Linked DNA regions of Homo sapiens: regions 2, 3 and 4 are each linked to region 1. Evidence: promoter capture Hi-C in 16 types of primary human blood cells and fetal thymus (Javierre and others, 2016). All regions are on one chromosome and are shown on one strand. Each heading gives the region's core, a stretch centred on a gene start or on the middle of the fragment in contact. The rest is flanking DNA. Distances are from core to core; before and after follow the strand shown.

What was found. Contacts are between HindIII fragments. The CHiCAGO score rates a contact against its expected background, and 5 or more counts as called.
Region 2: a fragment that was not itself captured here is called in contact with the fragment with the promoter of CTRB2 in region 1 in 3 of 17 cell types (naive CD8 T cells, fetal thymus and naive B cells); the score reaches 6.1 in naive CD8 T cells.
Region 3: a fragment that was not itself captured here is called in contact with the fragment with the promoter of CTRB2 in region 1 in 1 of 17 cell types (M1 macrophages); the score reaches 5.3 in M1 macrophages.
Region 4: a contact is called between the fragment with the promoter of ZNRF1 here and the fragment with the promoter of CTRB2 in region 1, in 2 of 17 cell types (M1 macrophages and M0 macrophages). The highest score is 5.2, in M1 macrophages.

The regions. Positions count from the first base shown.
Region 1 is chr16:75,205,650-75,209,123 of GRCh38, forward strand. It overlaps CTRB2 (chymotrypsinogen B2), which reads right to left and starts at 1,512. Exons shown (of 7, transcript NM_001025200.4): 1 at 1,441-1,512; 2 at 441-544; 3 at 264-343; 4 at 93-171. The coding sequence starts at 1,492. RefSeq lists a silencer at 1,102-1,321 and an enhancer at 2,994-3,474. The HindIII fragment of the contact is 10,617 bases long and covers 1-3,474 here.
Region 2 is chr16:75,359,166-75,362,372 of GRCh38, forward strand. The region is part of intron 5 of CFDP1 (craniofacial development protein 1); the gene reads right to left. Among named protein-coding and RNA genes, the nearest start is that of CFDP1, 73 kb to the right of the region's middle. The HindIII fragment of the contact is 4,280 bases long and covers 1-3,207 here.
Region 3 is chr16:75,440,528-75,443,656 of GRCh38, forward strand. It overlaps TMEM170A (transmembrane protein 170A), which reads right to left. Exons shown (of 3, transcript NM_145254.3): 3 at 2,527-3,129. Among named protein-coding and RNA genes, the nearest start is that of CFDP1, 8.6 kb to the left of the region's middle. The HindIII fragment of the contact is 1,762 bases long and covers 622-2,383 here.
Region 4 is chr16:74,997,774-75,001,262 of GRCh38, forward strand. ZNRF1 (zinc and ring finger 1) reads left to right here and starts at 1,251. Exons shown (of 5, transcript NM_032268.5): 1 at 1,251-2,322. The coding sequence starts at 1,899. RefSeq lists silencers at 1,043-1,562, 1,963-2,272 and an enhancer at 3,063-3,122. The HindIII fragment of the contact is 6,289 bases long and covers 1-3,489 here.

The DNA.
Region 1 (3,474 bases), core at 262-2,761:
GCCCGGCCCCACTGGGCGCCTGTCCCTGAAGCAGCCGAGGGGTCTCCCCCCGTGCCCACGGCCCTGCCCTCTGCTGCACGGGGCCTGGGTACCTTGGCGATCTTCAGGACCTGGATGTTCTCCTCGTCAGAGCCCTGGTCAAACTCCCCAGCCACGACCACGTCGGAGGTCCTGGGCAGAGCGTTGTGGGTGAGAGAACATGCCCTGCTCCCCTCCCACCCGACCGGTGCTGGAAGCGGAGCCCAAGGCTGCCCGGTCCTCACCTGACCCCGCAGTGGGCAGCGGTGACCACCCAGTCCTCGCTGATGAGGGAGCCCCCGCAGAAGTGGAAGCCGGTTTTGTCCTGTGAGCAAGATGGGGAGGGTCAGCACCTCCCACCCGGGGGCACCCCCAGCCTGGCCCCTACCCAGGGTGCCCCCCACCTTGCAGAACCCCCTCACCTGCAGGGACACCTGCCAGGGCCAGGAGCCGGGGACGGCGTCCTCCCCATTCACGATCCTGGACAGGCCGCTGAGCACAGGGTGGATGGCGGGGACCCCGCAGCCTGGGGGCGGGAGTGGGCTGAGGGGTGGGTACCACCCACCCAGGTCCTAATGCTCCAGCCTCCTCTCACTCCCAACTCTTTTCCAGTCTCTGGGACCTAGACTGGCTCCCACATCCCCTTCTCTGAGAAGTTGGCCCTGGCTCTCCTCTCCGCAGAGCTGGAATCCCCAGGTACAACTGAGTCCAATGAACTGGGCTGTGGGCTGCTGAGGAATGGGGTGTTGGCCCCACCTCAGTTCGGAGAAGTCACACAGGTGGAGCGTGCGGTGGGCGGCAGCCCCGGCGCTCAGTCTGGGAGGCCAGACTCTGTGGGTTTGAACCTGGCTCCCTCCCTGCCCAGCTAAGCCACTCAGTGTCCCCATCAGCAAAGTGGGGATCACGCTGTTTCTGACCTCACAGGTTTGGTAGAGTGAGCAGGCAGAGCGCCAGCTCTGCGCCTGGCACCCGGGAAGTGCTCCGTGAGCAGGAGTTTAAGAGGGTGAGGCTCGAGGTTCTGAAAGGTTTGGACTGAACGGTGCCAAGCCCCAGCTGCCCACACATTCACCACCCAAACCTGTGCTGGGGCCGCTGACTGTTTGGGGGTTTCCCGAAGGCCTCAGGGCAGCCCCCGGACACCTGCCTCCTCCCCCCGCCTCCTCCCCTGAGAGCCTCAGGTCTGCTGGGGGTGAGGAAGGGGAGCGGGACTCCCCATCTCCTGAGCTCAGAGGCGGCAGCTGAGCCTGGGAGGGAGGCATTGACCTCTCAGCGCCCACGGCAGAGATGGAGCCGGTGACTCGCCCAGGCCCACACTGCGGTGCACAGCTGAACTGGGAGCTGGGACCCTGCTGCCTCTTGCTGGCCTCGGGGCTGGGAGTGAGAGGAGAAAACCCTTCGGCCTCCGCAGGGCCTGGCACTCACCGAAGGTGGTACCCAGGAGGGCCCAGCAGGAGAGGAGCCAGAGGAAAGCCATGGTGCCGCTGGCAGGGGTGTAGGACGCCTGTCTGCCGGTCCCCGTTATAGCCCTGTGTGCCTGCTGTTATCTGGAGACCTTGGGGCGATAATCCCTTCCCTGGGAGTGGGCAAGATGTGTCGGTGCAGGGCTGGCCAGGAAGCCTGGGATGGCAGCAGCTGTGGCCTTAGCTGAGCCGGGCTAACCCAGGTGGCCTTCGACCATTGCCTTTCTCCTCCAGGCCCAGGCTTGGGCAGGGGCCTCCAGGGGCTGAGTCCAGCATCCCCGGGTTTGAGCCCCAGCTGAGTCTCTTGTGCTCTGCAAAGAATTCACTTGATCTTTTCATGGTTTGAAAACCCCTGGGCAGGCCGGGCATGGTGGCTCACGCCTGTAATCCCAGCACTTTGGGAGGCTGAGGCGGATGGATCACGAGGTCAAGAGATCAAGACCATCCTGGCCAACATGGTGAAACTCCGTCTCTACTAAAAATACAAAAAATTAGCCAGGCGTGGTGGCGCACACCTGTATTCCCAGCTACTTGGGAGGCTGAGGCAGGAGAATGGTGTGAACCCGGGAGGCGGAGGTTGCAGTGAGACGAGATTGCGCCACTACACTCCAGCCTTGTGACAGTGAGACTGTCTCAAAAAAGGAAAAAAAACAAAAAAAAAGAAAAAAACCCAATGGGCAATGTGACCAAGTAGAGGAGAGGCTGGGGGAGCAGGCCTGTGCCCCATGGTGTAGCCAGAGGCTGGGGTGCGGGTGCTCGCCGGGTCCCAGGGGATGGCTAAGAAGGCTCAGTGAAGGCCCAGTCGACATCTGTGTTGGTCACTTGGGCTGTGTACAGGGGAGGGGTAGCTACCTGCTGTCCTCACACTGGGCCACCCCTGCACACAGGCGCCAGCACACCTGGGCCCTGGAGCTGAGCAGGTGGCATCAGAGGGCAAGACTGGGCCTAGGGCCCGGCCTGGGGGCCTGGCATCGCCCTGATGAGAACTGATGGAGGCTGAGCCTCAGGGCAGAGCATGGGCGGGGACACCTGGTTCCTCGTGCGGGTGGCAGCATGGGTGGTGGAGCCCTTTCTCAGCAACTGGGAAACGGGGGAGGGAGAAATTTTGGATTGAGGCTGCCAGATGGAGGGCAAGTTCCCCAAAATGCACAGGAAAAGGTGCCTCGTGGCTGTTTTCAATTCCACCACACTGATGCCTGCAGCATGTGTGTTTACAGCACGGGTTGTGGGGTCAGGCAGCTGTGGAGCCGTGGGCAAATGACTTGCCCTCTCTGATCCTGTATGTAATTGAGGATGCTTAGAGTATGGGTCCCATGACAAAAGGAAGAGCCTTCTTGAGCACCAGGACCAGGCCAAGCATGCAATCCACGCTGGCGGGGCCCCTACATTCCTCTTTCTTGAGTGAATCACCTGTTCAGGCCCTTCGCTCATTCTAGAAGATTGTCTGAGGACAGAGGGGTTGGCGGGCACCAGCAGGACGGAGCATGGCCTGGTCGGGATGAGACGCACCCACCTCTGCATGCACATGGGCTCTTCCTGCCAGCCAGTGCCCACCAGGCCCACGGGAACAGCTGAACAAAACCAACAAATTCCTGCGTGTGGCAGCTGACAGCCGGGAGGAGGCTGGAGAGTTTAGGGAAGAGAGTCAATTTTTAAAATAAGTAAAATACACACACCAGCAGCTAAAGAGTTCTTCTTCTCATTATTATTACTGATACTGAGGCCAGGAGGGCCTCACTCTGAAGGGGAGATTTAAGCAAACAGCCTAGGAGTTTGTGGGAGCAGTCCAGAGCACCCTCGGAGGAGAGGAAACGAACCTGGGGTCGCAGGACCCAAAGAGGTCTGCGTCCCTAGGGCAGCGAAGAGCTCAGAAGTCGAGGGGGCGGGCCCAGGAGGGCCCTAAGGAGACGGTACTAGAGCCTCAGGGGCAGCCCCTAGCTATAAGCTGGCTGGGGCAGATGGGGGAAAGGGCGCAAGCCCTCACCTGGCCTGAGTG
Region 2 (3,207 bases), core at 213-2,712, 150 kb after region 1:
GATATTAAAGAAATTTACAAAATCATGCTATTCTAAATTTTAAAAATATACTAGTTTATTTTAATTTCTTATACTATAAATAACAACAGTTATAACCCAGTCAATAATTTTGAAGAGCGTAAAGAGGTCCTGAGAACAAAAAGTTTGAGAACTACTGAGTCAGAGTAACATGCACACGAGCCTCTTTTCCAACAGGAAAAGAAAGCCAGATTCTTATTAACAGAGAATAATTCACACCACTGGTTCCAAAATAGCAAAGCTCTGCAGAGGCTAATACGCTGTGAAGGGTATTAAGTGCTGAATTTTTAGCTAGTCTATTCAATGATGCTGTTTTCCCCTAAGACTCTTAAGGGGTGGAAAAATAAGACAAAACAACAAAACCACCCAAAACTCATGCCTTGGATTTGCCAAATCACTAAACCAATCTTTCCTGAGACTCCAATGCAGTCATGACCTGTATGCAATTGCCCTAACCATGATCACCTCCACCTTGCACTTGGTACCAGTGCCCACCTTCTATCAGATTCTATTTTCCAGGATAACAACCCTAAGCAAATTTGGAGACATATCAGGTTTTGAATTCAGAGCAAAACGATAACAGCCTCTGGCCCAACAGGGATATGCTTCACTGTCTTCTTGACCAAACCCAATTTATCTGAGTGCCAGTGTTTTATAAGTAACATCTACAGTTTTCAGTGTTTTATTTATTGTGCTATCAAACTTCACATTTGCATTGCTAATGGCTACTCTCCAAAGAAAGCTGAAAATGATCTGCTGAGAGACAACAGCAGTGCAGTGGCACCTTCTTAGCTCACTGCAGCCTCAAACTCCTGGGCTCAGATGATCCTCCTGCCTCAGCCTTCCCAATAGCTAGGACTACAGATGCATGCTCATTTTTAAAATTTTGGTAGAGAAGGGGGTCTCACTATGTTGGGCAGCCTGTCTTGAACTTCTGGCCTCAAGCAATCCTCCCATCCTGGCCTCCCAAAAAGTGCTGGGATTACAGGCATGAGCCACTGCGCCCAGCCCAGATTTTGGTTTCTAATATTACTTTCCACTAAAGGAACCAGGAACCTAGATGGGAGATGACTCCATGTCTTGGGGCAAAAAAACAATAAAGACCATTCTGGTATTTTCTAGCACTGCCAGAAAGTAAGAATACTTTTCAGACTGCCAGAGTTAGTGTCAAAAGGACAAAGGAATCAGCTCAAAGACAATGCCATTAGCCAATCTATGACAATCTGAGCTTCAAAAAGAAAATAACTATGGTTAACTGAAGGAAACCGAAACAAAACTAATTTTGTAAAAATAATTTAGCACCAGAGGGTCCAAAACAGGTTTTTGTACATGGAAAGGAATACTACCCCTCTTCTTATATCGCATTAACCCCCAATGGGAGCATAAGTTAAAGACAAAAACAGAGCATACATAACAATAACTTTCCTGTGGCTGAATAAAATCCCTTCTAGTAGAAATTGTTGAAAATCAAGATAACTGGAAATTTGCCACTAGTTTACCCCAAACCACACAGAATAAGTCTTATTAATAATTGTATTTATATTTTATCTCTTAAGATGTTTGATGTGCTTAAAAGAACAAGCTACCTTAATTTATATGTAATATTTAAGCAACGTTAATTTTCAATAGACAAATTTAACAACTGACCATTAAACAAACCATAAAAATATTACAGGTAAGATGTTAAAAAGATTCACATAAGAATTCTTTTTTAAAAAGAAATAGTAAGAAACAGCAGTTGATCTTCCACACCATCTCTAGAAACATCATCCAATGTTAAGATACATTTTTGGCTATTCTTTCAAACATTCCACCCATTCACCAATTTTCTTTTCTTTTTTTCTGAGGCAGGGTCTTACTCTATGGCCCAGGCTGGAGTGTAGTGGCGTGATCTTGGCTTACTACAACCTCCACCTCCTGGGTTCAAGTGATTCTCCTGCCTCAGCCTCTGTAGTAGCTGGGAATACAGGCACGCACCACCACACTCGGCTAATTTTTGTATTTTTTAGTAGCGATGGGGTTTTGCCATGTTGGCCAGGCTGCTCTCGATCTTCTGGCCTCAAGTGATCCACCCGCCACAGTCTCCCAAAGTGCTGTGATTACAGGCATGAGTAACCACACCCAGGCAAGTCAGATATTGTTTAAATTTAAAGCCGGGCGCGGTGGCTCACACCTGTAATCCCAGCACTCTGGGAGGCCGAGGCAGGTGGATCACTTGAAGTCAGGAGTTCAAGACCATCCTAGACAACATAGTGAATCCCCACGTACACTAAAAATACAATAATTAGCCAAGTGTGGTGCCGCACGCCTGTAATCCCAGCTACTCAGGAGGCTGAGGCATGAGAATCGCTTGAACCTGGGAGGCGGAGGTTGCTGTGAGCTGAGATCATGCCACTGCACTCCAGCCTGGGCAACAGAGCAAGACTATGTCTCAAAAAGAAAAACAAAACCAAAAAGACACACAAATCAACTTAGGAAGGGATAAACATGTAAAAAACTCAAAGAATTAAAAAAAGTTTTTTTACAATACACAATAGAACTGTCAAAAGGCACTTGCACCCTCCATAAATACACTGTAGAAAACAACTCTGAACACATGAACATGTTCTCTCCTTGTCTGGTTTCTTTTTGAATTTCTCAACGTCTGTTTCCTCTTTGGGTCCCAGGTTTCCTTGTATTTGTTTTCAGAATTTTACTATTATTTTTCGCTCTCTTCCTTCTCCTATTCTGCTACGGCATGAGCTGAAAGCGTGGCCTCAGGAAAACAAGCAAAAGAGCCTGTCTTGACCAATAATTCCCATACCTACAGGAAGTCATTTGTACAAAATGAAGGAACTCAGAAAAACCCAAGAATTCAATGAAGTTATTCATTCGGAGATGCTTTTGCCGCAATCGAATGCTTGCTAGTTCCTAGACTGCATGATCTACACAAATTGGGTAATAAGTCAGACGGGACAGTCCTGGGTCAGTACTGTCATTTCCTTTTCCATGTCTGCCCTACAGGCTTCAAGGCCAGGCAAAAAATATCCTTCATACTAAAAATCAAGTCTCCATACAGATCAGTGGTCTTGCCTATGGCCTATGGTGTAGCATCCTACTTTGGGTAGAAAGGCGGGGCCCAGCTGCACCTCTAGGAGGGCTGATATCAACACTGTGCTGAAAGGCAAGGGGGGTCAAGTTTAAAGTTCA
Region 3 (3,129 bases), core at 253-2,752, 230 kb after region 1:
CTAGTCTCGATCTCCTGACCTTGTGATCCGCCCGCCTCAGCCTCCCAAAGTGCTGGGATTACAGGTGTGAGCCACCGCGCCTGGCCACGCCTAGCTAACTTTTATACCTTTTGTAAAGACGGGGTTTCACCATGTTGGTCCAGTTGGTCCACCACCAGGCTGGTCCAGTCCTTTGTGACTTGAACATATTTCCTCATATTTTGTGAGGTTTCCACTTTTTTTGAAAGACAGCATCCTGCTCTATTGCCCAGGCTGGAGTGCAGTGGTGCATAGCCCCACTGTAGCCTCCAACTCCTGGGTTCAAGCAATCCTCCCACCTCAGCCTCCTGAGTAACTAGAACTTCAGGTGCACACAACCACACCCAGCTAACTTTTAAAAATACACATATTTTGTAAAGATAGGGTCTTGCTGTGTTACCCAGGCTGATCTCAAACTCATGACCTAAACCAGTCCTCCCACCCGGGCCTCCCAAATTGCTGGGATTACAGGCATGAGCCACCGTGTCTGGCTATTCATACTTTCTTGAAGGTGTCCTTCAAAGTCGTTTTTAATTTTGATGAAGTCCAATTTATCTATTTTTTGTTTATTTTCCCTTGTGCTTTTGGAATTGTATCTAAGAAAGCTTTACCTAAGCCAAGATCATAAAATTTACGCTTATTTTTTTCTAAGAGTTGTAGTTCTTGCGTTTAGGTTTATGATCCATTTAAGCACATTTTTTTTTTTTTTTTGAGATGGAGTTTCGCTCTTGTTGCCCAGGCTGGAGCGCAATAGCGTGATCTCGGCTCACTGCAACCTCTGCTTCCTGGGTTCAAGCGATTCTCCTGCCTCAGCCTCCCAAGTAGCTGGGATTACAGGCATACACCACCACGTGTGGCTAATTTTGTATTTTTAGTATAGACAGGGTTTCTCCATGTTGGTCAGGCTGATCTGGAACTCCTGACCTCAGGTGATCTGCCCGCCTCGGGCTCCCGAAGTGCTGGGATTACAGGCATGAGCCACTGCACCCGGCCTAAGCACACTTTTCTTATGGGAGAGTAATAGAAAAATAGATGTAAAATTTGAACCCAGTATTTGGAAGTTGACCATTCTTGGCGTCATTTACCTTGGACAGCATAAATGGTGTCCTACAGCCACAAATCAGGATGTACCCTTTTGCCCTATCACTGGGGGTGAGTCTGGGGAACAGGAGCCACTGCGTTCTCTGGCAGACACTCCCCAGCACCCATTTCTCCTAGCACTCCATGTGATTGTTCAGATTTACAACTAGAGTTCCTGACCGCTTTAAGGGTAATCAGAGTGGGAATTACTTTCTAATAGTTGAGATGGAAAAAAAATTGGTGGTGAGCAGGCCAAATCCAGCTTAAAATCATGTATTGTAATGACTTAAAAGTGTTTTACGGCAAGGCGCACAATTACAGGTGGCTCGCGGCTGTAATTCCAGCACTTTGGGAAGCCAAGGTGGGCGGACCATTTGAGGTCAGGAGTTCGAGACCATCCTGGCCAACACCGTGAAACCTCGTCTCTACTAAAAATACAAAAATTAGCCAGGTTTGGGGGCGCACATCTGTAATCCCAGCTACTTGGGAGGCTGAGGCAGGAGAATCACTTGAACTTGGGAGGTGAAGATTGCAGTGAGCCAAGATCGCGCCACTATACTCCAGCCTGAGCAACAGAGCGAGACTGTGTCTCTAAATAAATAAATAAATAATAAAAGTGTTTTACGCAAGTTTAAATTAGTTGCTAACACTTAAAAATGGAGAGATTTCAAACAGTAACCTAGATTTCCAGCTTCTCTTGAAAATAAGTATCTGGCAAGATTGGGTTAATCATCGAATAAAGCAGAAACAGGCTGGAGCCAAGCAATAGCTGACTCCTTCGGACAGGGCTCTCCACTTGGCCACAGCACAAATCCCTCCAACTCCCTAAAGATTCCTGGTTCACTGTTCTGTTTTCTCGGTAATAATTTAGGGTGTCCTCCCTGCCGATCTCAGCACCTTTACTCCCAGATACATATACAGTCTTGGGGTCTTCTGTCTGAACTGTGTACGTATCTTTCCGGGGTGCTAGAAACATTCTGTCTCTTGATCTATTAGTCACATTAAGTATATATATATATATATATATATATATGTAAAATTCATTAAGCTATACATTTTAAGATTTGTACACTTTACTGCATGTTAAACCTCAACTTTAGAAAATTAGAAGGAATGAATGGGCAATCTCCTGCCAGACATTCTCTGTATGTGTCTGCAATGGCTGGAACTGCAGCAATCTTGTGACCATGAGGTAAACTACCCAACTTAGTCCCATTTGTTAAAAATGGCAGAACAGTGAGATTTATGATGTCACCAAGGGTATTAAATTAACCAAACACGACGAAGCTTCTCTTCATGTGGACTTACTATTAAAATAATACATTTTCACACACTGTATCAATACTCACCTATTCCTGCACAGAATCAAACAAAAGTTTCTTGATGGGAATATATGGCCCAGCAAGTAGAGTTAATAAGAATTTCAAGTTCACATGTTAAGTACGGTTTAATCACAACTTTGAACAAGAATTTTATCATAAATTAGTAAGAAGTAGAACATAAAAAAAGTTACACATGCTAGATATTAAGTTATTTAAAAAATGAAAACTGAAGTCAATTTTATTACAAAAGATTAAACTCATTAGCCACCAAAAAGAAATATAATTCCAACTCAGAATTGAAAGTAATTTTTTATTGATAAACATTTACACTAGAATTAGAAATGTCAGTAGAAAAATAAAATTTAAATAATTTTCTATTGTACAAAGATTTGATCATTTTGACTGTAGCAGTTAGTGAAATAACATAATATAAAAAGTTAAGCTGATCTGAGTCACAACCAGCCTTATAGAGTGCACAAAAAAGAAATGCAAGTACACGACATTTCTGCATATGGTCTGCTAATGGCACCGATGCTTCACATTCCAGGAAATGGTTACTTAGGGAAGGTTGATATGTGCTGCAGCATAATAGGAACTTAATTCAAACCAGAGCAACCAGAAAGGATACTGGAGGCAAAAGCCAAAATACAATTTAAAATCTTAAAAAAAATAAGGAACGGTTTAAAGGTAATTAATGAACTTTTCCTCA
Region 4 (3,489 bases), core at 1-2,500, 210 kb before region 1:
AGCCTGGGAGGAGCAAGGCTCCGTCTCAAAAAAAAAAAAAAAGAAAAGAAAAAAAAGAAAAAGAAAAACAGGGCGGGCGCGGTGGCTCATGCCTGTAATCCTAACACTTTGGGAGGCCAAGGCAGGTGGATTACCTGAGGTCAGGAGTTCAAGACCAGCCTGGCCAATACGGTGAAACCCCGCCTCTACTAAAAATACAAAAAATTAGCCAGGTGCAGTGTGGCATGTGCCTGTAATCCCAGCTACTCGGGAGGCTGAGGCAGGAGAATCACTTGAATCCGGGAGGCGGAGGTTGCGGTGAGCCGAGGTTACGCCACACCACTCCAGCCTGGGTGACAGGGCGAGATTACGTCTCAAAAACAAAAACAAAACAAAACAAAAAAAACAGTTGTTCAATAAATGAATGTGAATATAGGAGAAAGACGGCTTGAGGTAGCAAAGGAACACTCCCTTGCAAATGATTCAGGCTTGGTCAACAATACACCTATTGAGTACCCACCGTGTCCTTGGCCCGTGGTGAGGGCCGAAACACAGCACATGGTAAACAAAACAGGGCTCCAGCCTTGGACAGAAGGTTTCTATAATCACTTCTAGCTGCGTTGTTCTATTTCCATACCCATATCTATTCACTTTTTATGGTACATCTATTGATTCTGAAAATTACATTTTAGCTAAGGAATCTACTCATTTGCTTAAGCCCAAAATAGGAAGTTATGATCTAGTGTCAGCAAAACGCCGGATTCACAAGTGTCCCCATGGCGCTGTTTACCCCCAAATAACTAAACCCCGCCAAATGTTGAGATTCCGGACGTGAGGGGTGCTTGGATGGGGAACCCCCGAAAGAATGGACATCACGTCCACCAGAGGGTGCTGTGGGGGCAAATTTGTGCCAGGAGGGGAGCTCGACCGGTGACCCTCAGAGCCAGGTAGGCGTAAGGAGTAAATCTCCTTCTTCCCGGTGTTTCCTTCCCACCCCCTCGAACCATTGCTGCCCCTCCCCCATACTTGGTTCCCCCTGAATAATTTGCCACTTTCGGGGACTTAAGAAGTGTTTGCTTTTGAAAGACATCTGGTTTCTGTGGCTAACGCCCAGTGGTCAGGCCGCCCAGGTCACAGGCCGGCCGGGGGCGGGCGGTGGGTGGGGACTGCTGGGGCGTCAGCGGCCCAGGCGCCGCAGGGACCGCGAAAGGGTTAACCCGGCGGGGGGAGGGGGAGGGGGCGCGGGCCGCGCCTGCGCTCTGCCGCCCTCCATTGTCTCCACGGCGGCGAGGAGCGCCGGCGAGCGCAGCCCGGGACCGAGCGGGGCGGCGCGGCTGGCGGGGCCGGCGGCGGCTGAAGCGAGAGCGCGACGCGACGCGACCGCGGCTTCCCGAGCTGCGCCTGGCCGCCCAGCGCCGCGGCCCGCCCGAGGCCTGGAGGGGTCCGGGCCGCCGTCCATGGTCGCGGCGTCCTGAGGCGGGGGACGCGCCCGGCGCCCCCGGCCCTCCTCCGCCTCCTCCCGCGGGGCGGGCGGCCTCCTCCGGCGCCTCCCCGCGCCCGCCCGCCGCTCGCCGCCGCCTCCCTCCCTCCTTCCCTGCGGCTCCCCCGGCTTTCGGAGCCCGGGGGCGGCCTGTGGCGCGCGGAGCCCGCGCCGGACTGCGCCTCTTTGGACCTTGAGGGGAAACATGCGTTTGCCTTGGATCGTTTGAAATTCTGAGTTTGGGATCCCCGCCCGCCCGCCTGCCTCTTCCGCCCCGCGGGTTTTTTCCTTTTTTCCTTTTGCTTTTTTTCCTTTTCTCCCTCCGGGTCTCCTTTTTGACTCCCTCCCCCTTTATGCTCGCCCAGCCCTCCCCCTGCTGCTGAGAAGTGGGGGAGGGTCTCGGCCTCCAGGTTCCCGCCCCACCGGGGCCCGGGCGAGCATGGGGGGCAAGCAGAGCACGGCGGCCCGCTCCCGGGGCCCCTTCCCGGGGGTCTCCACCGATGACAGCGCCGTGCCGCCGCCGGGAGGGGCGCCCCATTTCGGGCACTACCGGACGGGCGGCGGGGCCATGGGGCTGCGCAGCCGCTCGGTCAGCTCGGTGGCAGGCATGGGCATGGACCCCAGCACGGCCGGGGGGGTGCCCTTTGGCCTCTACACCCCCGCCTCCCGGGGCACCGGCGACTCCGAGAGGGCGCCCGGCGGCGGAGGGTCTGCGTCCGACTCCACCTATGCCCATGGCAATGGTTACCAGGAGACGGGCGGCGGTCACCATAGAGACGGGATGCTGTACCTGGGCTCCCGAGCCTCGCTGGCGGATGCTCTACCTCTGCACATCGCACCCAGGTGGTTCAGCTCGCATAGTGGTGAGTCCGCGGGTGGTGGAGGCCTCGGAGGGAGGGCGCGCCGGGGCGCCCCAAGCCTTCGCGTGCGTGCCAAGGTTTGGGAATGTAGTGCACGACCGGGATCTGTCTGCATTCCCTTTGGTTCCCGATGCCAAGGGATAAATGGGATACCTACCGTCTGGAAACTAGGCTTTCTGCGAGGCTGCGGAGCCTGGCGATTTAGGGACTCACGGCGTGTGTTCACTTGTGGAAGGGCAGAGCGAAGCCTACCTATTGGAGTTCCATTTATTGGCATCACCCTCCTCAGAGAAGAGGTCGTGTCTGGCTGAGAGCAAGTCAGCCTGGGTACTTCCATTCTGCCACTGCAGCACTGTGCCTGCCTCACCGGTAACGGAGAGATGGAGCCAGTTGGAGCAAGCAGTGTCTCCTAAACAGAGTGTGTGAAAATGAAATAAAATCAGGGGCAAGTGATGCCTGGATTAGGGCTCTCACTCTTGCTGGGAGAGAGAGGTGCCCAGTTTTGCCACCCTGCTGGAGATCTGTTTGAAATGTTTAAAATGGAGCAGCCGGCAGGCGGCTGGCATAGACAGGTGTGGCTGCTGTACGGAGGGCCCAGCCGGCGAGTCTCGCGGGGGCTTTGCAGGACCCGGGCTGTGGTCACCCGTACTGCATGCAGCAGGCTTGGCTCCGCGACTCTCGCCTCCCTCCATCTTTTTTTCTTCTGCTCCATGCTAAGTGCTTGGTCTTCCCGTGAATCTGCATCTTTTTGTAACAGGGAGCCTGTCACGGTGGGGCATTATTGCCTGGCTGTTGGCACATGACTGGGGAAAAGGAGGATTCAGAGAATCTGGATGAATTCATTTTATGAACTTCTGGTGACAGGCCAGCAAAAGGTTGGAGGGGGATTTCCCAGGCTCCTAGCGGGAGGGCAAAAAAGGCCTGGCAGGAGGAAAACAGGTCTGTCTGCTAGGTCAGGCATCTAGAAAATTGGCCAAAAGGGATGTGGGGGCCGCTATTTGCTAATTGGCAAGTTGAGTGATGAAGTTACATCTTAAGATTCTTTTGGGTGAGTTGGGAAAATTTAGATAGTGTAGGGGAAAGATTGCTCCTGCCTTTAGGGTACTTTATGGAGGGTAATATCTGTTGGATCACTCTTTTAACTACTGTGAAATAGGGTTGACTTTTGGG